Regions from separate parts of the Homo sapiens genome. Here region 2 is linked to region 1. The links are contacts of gene promoters, found by promoter capture Hi-C in blood cells and fetal thymus (Javierre and others, 2016). All regions are on one chromosome and are shown on one strand. Each heading gives the region's core, a stretch centred on a gene start or on the middle of the fragment in contact. The rest is flanking DNA. Distances are from core to core; before and after follow the strand shown.

What was found. The method cuts DNA at HindIII sites, captures the fragments that hold promoters and counts their contacts. A CHiCAGO score of 5 or more calls a contact.
Region 2: a fragment that was not itself captured here is called in contact with the fragment with the promoter of LRP3 in region 1 in 1 of 17 cell types (M2 macrophages); the score reaches 5.7 in M2 macrophages.

Annotation. Positions count from the first base shown.
Region 1 is chr19:33,193,019-33,195,742 of GRCh38, forward strand. LRP3 (LDL receptor related protein 3) reads left to right here and starts at 1,312. Exons shown (of 7, transcript NM_002333.4): 1 at 1,312-1,840. The coding sequence starts at 1,768. The HindIII fragment of the contact is 39,491 bases long and covers 1-2,724 here.
Region 2 is chr19:33,768,086-33,770,809 of GRCh38, forward strand. The region is part of intron 3 of CHST8 (carbohydrate sulfotransferase 8); the gene reads left to right. Among named protein-coding and RNA genes, the nearest start is that of KCTD15, 27 kb to the right of the region's middle. The HindIII fragment of the contact is 755 bases long and covers 985-1,739 here.

The DNA of each region.
Region 1 (2,724 bases), core at 62-2,561:
CTGCACTCTAGCCTGGGTGAAAAAGTGAGACTGTCTCTAAAAAAACTAAGAAGCAGCAGCAGCAGCAGCAACAACAACAACAACAACAACAAACGAACAAACCGCAGATCCACCCTACCATTGCCCCTGCCTCTGTTGAGCATTTTTGCCATGCGTAAATAAATGCCTGCTCATCCGCAGTCAGCAGTCTGAGGAAATTCTGAAACCAAATTACACATAGGCTAGTGCTCTATGCCATCAATCTGTAATGTATCTTGTTATTTGATTTTTACGTCCTTTAATACATTTCCTAAGAAGTCTGCTTTGGAAAAATCACCAAAGGAATTAGAAGAGAGAGAATAAGAAAACCCAGAAAAACTAAAAGGATTTTTCTTCCCCCCATTTTTTATTAAAATCCAATCAACCTGCACAGTGCGAGTGAGTGAGTGACTGTCTACGCTTTCACTAACGGACCATCAGTTTCTCTCAACCTTCTCTCCATAAACGGAGAATATCAAATGAGGGTCTGGGGGTGTTAGAAAAGGGTTGGGAGCCTCAGCTCAGGTTGGTGGGCCCGCTGTGCCATGGAGCCTTTGGGGACCTCTGATTTCACATCCGTCTTGGCCCTAAATGGCCTTCTCAAACCTTCCCCCTGTCTCTCCTGGTTCTTGCCTCATTGGACTCAACCTCTTGGTGGGCAGCTCTCCAGAGGGCACCCCCAGCCTAAGAAGCAGGCCTCCTCCCAAGTCCCCAGCCTCACGAGGATAGTGGGTAACAGGGTGGGCTCAGGGGGCCCTGGGAGATCTCCAGAGGCCTCTGGTGTGTTCACCAATGTCCCCTGACAGGTCTTGCTTGGCACAGGGGGTTCCTCTTAGAGACGTGACAGGGCACTTGGACTGTGGCAAATGAAAGAAGCGGAGGGGCAGGAACAGGGACACCTTGCGAAGAAGACAGGCCTTAGCCTTGTGCCACCCCTATGAGGTCCCTAAGCCGTCCTCTCTCTCCCACCTTTTCCCAGTCCTCGCTCCCCGGTCCTCCTCAGCACAGCCGGCTCCAGGAGGGATCAATTCGTGGGCCCGGGAGGAGGCCAGGCGAGCACCGGCTGCCTGGAGCACTGGGCTGGAGCGCGGGGAGCGCGGCGGGGGGCGCGGGCGGGGCGGGGCTGGTGCGCAGAGCTGTCCAGCACCCCGAGGCGGGGCGTGCGCCCCCGGCCCGCCCCAGCCGCCTCCGCCCGCCCAGCCAGCGCCACTGCGGCTCGGCGGGCGCGTCACGTGGCTGGCGCAGCGCGGCCTCCAGGCTCCGGGCGCGGGCGAGGGGCCGGGCGGGAGGACTGACAGACCCACGGACGCTCTACCGGCGGCACCCGGCCGGGCGGGCTGGGCGCAGCGCGGGGCGGCCCGGGGACGCCGGGGCCGGGCGGGCTGCGCGCCGCGGGGCATGGGCGCGCCGGGGGTCCCCGGGCCCAGGCCGGCCGCGGCGGGGCTCCCGGGGCGCGGGGGCAGCGGCGGGCGGGGGTCTTCCCTGGCGGCCGCCGCTGAGCCCCCGCAGGGCCCGTGACGCCGCGGCCGATGTGGCCGCGCGCGCCCTACGGGCCTGCACCGCCACCGCACAAAGACGCCTCGGGAGCCGCCGCCTGCACCCGGGCCGCAGCAGCCACGCCAGCCGGAGCCCGAGCCCTAGCCCGAGCCCGAGCCCGAGCCGCAGCCAGAGCCAGAGCCGGAGCCGCAGCCGGAACCGGAGCCGGAGCCGCGGGGCAGGAGGCGGCGCCCGCGGGCGGCCGGGCCCGGCATGGAGAAGCGCGCGGCCGCGGGGCTGGAGGGCGCGCCGGGCGCCCGGGCGCAGCTGGCCGTCGTCTGTCTGGGTGAGTGGGCCGCGCGGGCCGGGCAGGTCCGGGTCCCCCGCATGGCAGTCCGCGCCGCGCCCTGACCGACCTCCTCTCCGGCCGCGGCATCCCGAGCCCCCCACCGCGGTGGCTCCCGCGCGGAGACCCAGAGAGGGGCCAGCACCGCTTGCCCGCCTGGCCCCGGGCCTGGGAGGGCGACTCTGGTGGCGCAGCCCCGGCTCCCGCCCCGCTCGGAGTAGCGCCCGGAGCCCGGGCTGAGCGCTGGCAGGAGGCCCTTCGTGCAGGCGGCAGCCTTCAACCCGGCCCGCCCGCGCTGAGCCTGGAGACGAGGGGGCCCCGGGAGCTGGGGACAAAGGCCAGGCCGGCTGTCCCCTGAAGAAGAAACTGTTTCCGGCCCGGAGTTGGGGTGGGGGCTGGTGTAAGCCGCAGATGGGGACTCGGGGTGCGGGGCAGGGCTGGAGGAGGGTGCCAGTGTGGAGGCGGCTTCCAGGGGACTCCTGTTTTCCCTTTGTGTCTCTCAGCCCCCAGGCAGGCCTGTTCAGTTTAGGAGGGTGCTTGGGTTGGGCCAGGGACCGGTCAAGGCCAGGCATGGGGTGGGAGGGGCTCCCGCCCTGTCCGGGAGTTTTTCTGTCCAGCTTTCCAGCGCTCTGTGTAGGCGAGAGGAGGAGTTAAATCCCCAACCCACATGGCTCCTTTATTTACTGTGATGAAGGAGGGAGGCCATTATAAGAACTGGGGGTCATTAGGGGACACCCTGTGATGTCACCAGTGAGGGCTCTGTAACCTGACAGGTTTGCTGAAGCCACTGAAATGACAAAGTAATCACCCCCAGGCCTCAGGGAGCTCCGAGGCTCTGGCAGGCCCTTGCCCCAGCTGTGTGAGCCTGGCTCAGTGGGAATGTG
Region 2 (2,724 bases), core at 112-2,611, 580 kb after region 1:
GATGTGCAGACCCCTGCCCCAGGATACCTAAGGTTTCTCCTGGTTTTCACTTGCCCAGAGCCAGCAGTGGTTTTTGCTTCAGCCTTTATCTGACTGGTGCATGGAAGAGCAGTTTTCTTCCTAGTGGGGACACTAGGTTCACGGCAAAGGGGAGGTCCCTTTAGATTTCCTTCATTACGTTTCTTCTTTATTCGAAAGTGAACTTGTAGCCAGGTATGGTGGCTCGCACCTATAATTCCAGCCCTTTGGGAGGCCGAGGCAGGAGGATTTCTTGAGGCCAGGTGTTTGAGACCAGCCTGGACAACATAGCAAGACCCCATCTCTAACTATTTCTAAAATAAATGTAAATTTTTTTTCTTTTTCTTTATTTTATTTTATTTTTTTGAGACAAAGTCTCACTCTGTTGCTCAGGCTGTAGTGCAGTGGTGTGATCTCAGCTCACTGCAATCTCTGCCTCCTGGGTTCAAGTAATTTTCATGTCTCAGCCTACTGAGTAGCTGGGATAACAGGCATGCACCACCACACCCAGCTAATTTTTTTGTATTTTTAGTAGAGATCGGGTTTCACTATATTGGCCAGGCTAGTCTCGAACTCCCGGACTCAAGTGATCAGCCCATCTCAGCCTCCCAAGTGCTGGGATGACAGGCATGAGCCACCGTGCCCGGCAGTAAATTTTTAAAAATGTTAAAGTGAGCTTGTGGGGATAGGTCTAATCTTTGCCTGATAAGCTGCCGTAAGTCTAAGGGTTGGGAATAGCTTATGGCAAACTCAGGCTCTACTTAAGATGTTACTGATCTCTCTTACTCTCCACAAGGCAATTTTTCCTTTCAAAGGAGGAAGTTGCAGGCAGGTTGGCTTTATGGACACATGTAAACAGGAAATCAGGAGACTCGCCCAGCCCCAGGCTTTGTCTAGAAGGAACTTTTCCTCTAGTTAATGCCAAGGGCTCTAGCTCAGCGAGCATTAGAGTGGGACAGCCCCAGAAGCTTAGGCTCAGAGTCCAGAGGTCCAGGAGACAGTGTCCCCCTGTCCAGTCCTCACAGGTAAAATGGAACAGGACCACAGCCCACTGCCCTCCGAGGCTGTGGGGACAGTGCCAGTGGGAGGTCATGGCCTCAGGGGCTGCAACCTCAACAAGCACATGGCCTTCCATCTTCCCCCCGACTGGCAGGATCCCTTTTGGAAGTGGCTTCTCAGCCCCACTCTTGGCCAAATCTGGCATGACTCATTTGCTTTAGAAAAGGAATATATAAGCACCGTCACACCTTGATGAGATGACAGGAGTGACAAGCAGAGTGATTTCCCATATCTGAGACTCTGAGGAGGAGAGGTGGTTTAGCAGAGCCAGCTGCCATAACCAGAAGAAAATAATTAAGGAAATCTGGCAGAGTAGAGGAAAACCAAGTGGTGCAGCGGGTCCCTTCTAGTGAAGGGAGCTGTCATCATCGGCTGCGGGAGAGAAAGGAGCTCTGGAGGCTCGTGCTGGGACAGCTGCAGTAATGATGGGATGGGGAAGAGGAGGGGGTGGCTGTCAAGGAGGGAAATAGACTCTGGGCATGGCAGGGGGTGGCAATGAGCAGCTTGATTCTAAAGACTCCTCTCTCAGGCCAGGCACCTGCTACTTACACCCCACACCCTGAAGGGTGCAGCCAGGTCTACTTGGAGCTTCCCCTCAGTCTCCAGGGAAGAGTCTAGAAGGCCTGTTTCAAAGATCCCCCACATGCACGCATGTGCACATAAGCTTGGGAGTGCCCAGGAAGATGGGGACACTCTGCCCTTTGCCCAGGGGAGAGCATACCCTTGTTCCCAGCCCAAAGGGACAAGCGGAAGAAAGATGAAATGTGTCCCAGTTCTGCCTGCATTTCTGCCTCTCTTGGGACTTGAGGAAGGTTCGGGCAAGCTCAGGGAATTCAGGCTGTCCATTCCAGGGCTGACCTTGCATCTCCTTCCTGGCCTGCTAATGACTGAAGGAGACGTGCGGGCACGGCCTCAGCCTTACATTGTCTGGGGCATGGCAGTGGCTGAGTCTGTAAAACTGGACCTCATGGAGAAATCCACAGAATCTCTGGCTCAGGGAAGACCTGGAGATCCCTTCACCAGCTGGGCTCCTGCCACTGGACCTCTGCCCAGGACGTGGAGACAGCCAGGAAAGTGGTGGGACACTGGAACCCCCCTCCCGCAGGCAGCAGCCAGGATTTGCTCAGGTGTGGTCGGGCATGGTGCCCCGGCGCGCCAGCCAGAAGATCCAGCTCTCTCCTTAAGGGATAGCTGGCTCTGATGGTGACCATGGCTTTTGGCAGAGCCTCAGGACGAAAATGTCCACCCACATGGTACTGGAGCAGAAAGAGCCCCTGATTCCTCGGTGGCCAGGTAGGGACTGGGGAAGGAGGCTCCAGCTTCTAAATAGATTCCCCCCAAAGGGAATCTCCTTGTCCTCCTGCGACTTTCCCCCAAAGCAGACCAAATGAGGTATGACACAGAATATTCTGCTCTGGCCAAAGGTTCACCTCACCAGAGCTTGCTTCTTAGGTGAGCCCAGCCCAGGCATGGGCCTCCTTGGTAGGCAGAGGGGGCGTTCCAGAGCATGGCCATTGATGCACTGGTCTCTCTGTGTCTTCCTGAGGTCATCAGTAAGTTAACGCTGGACAATTACCCTCTACCTGGGCGCTGCTTAGGGCTTTGGGGGAGACCAGGGCGAGCAAGATATGCTTAGCTCACCCCAGA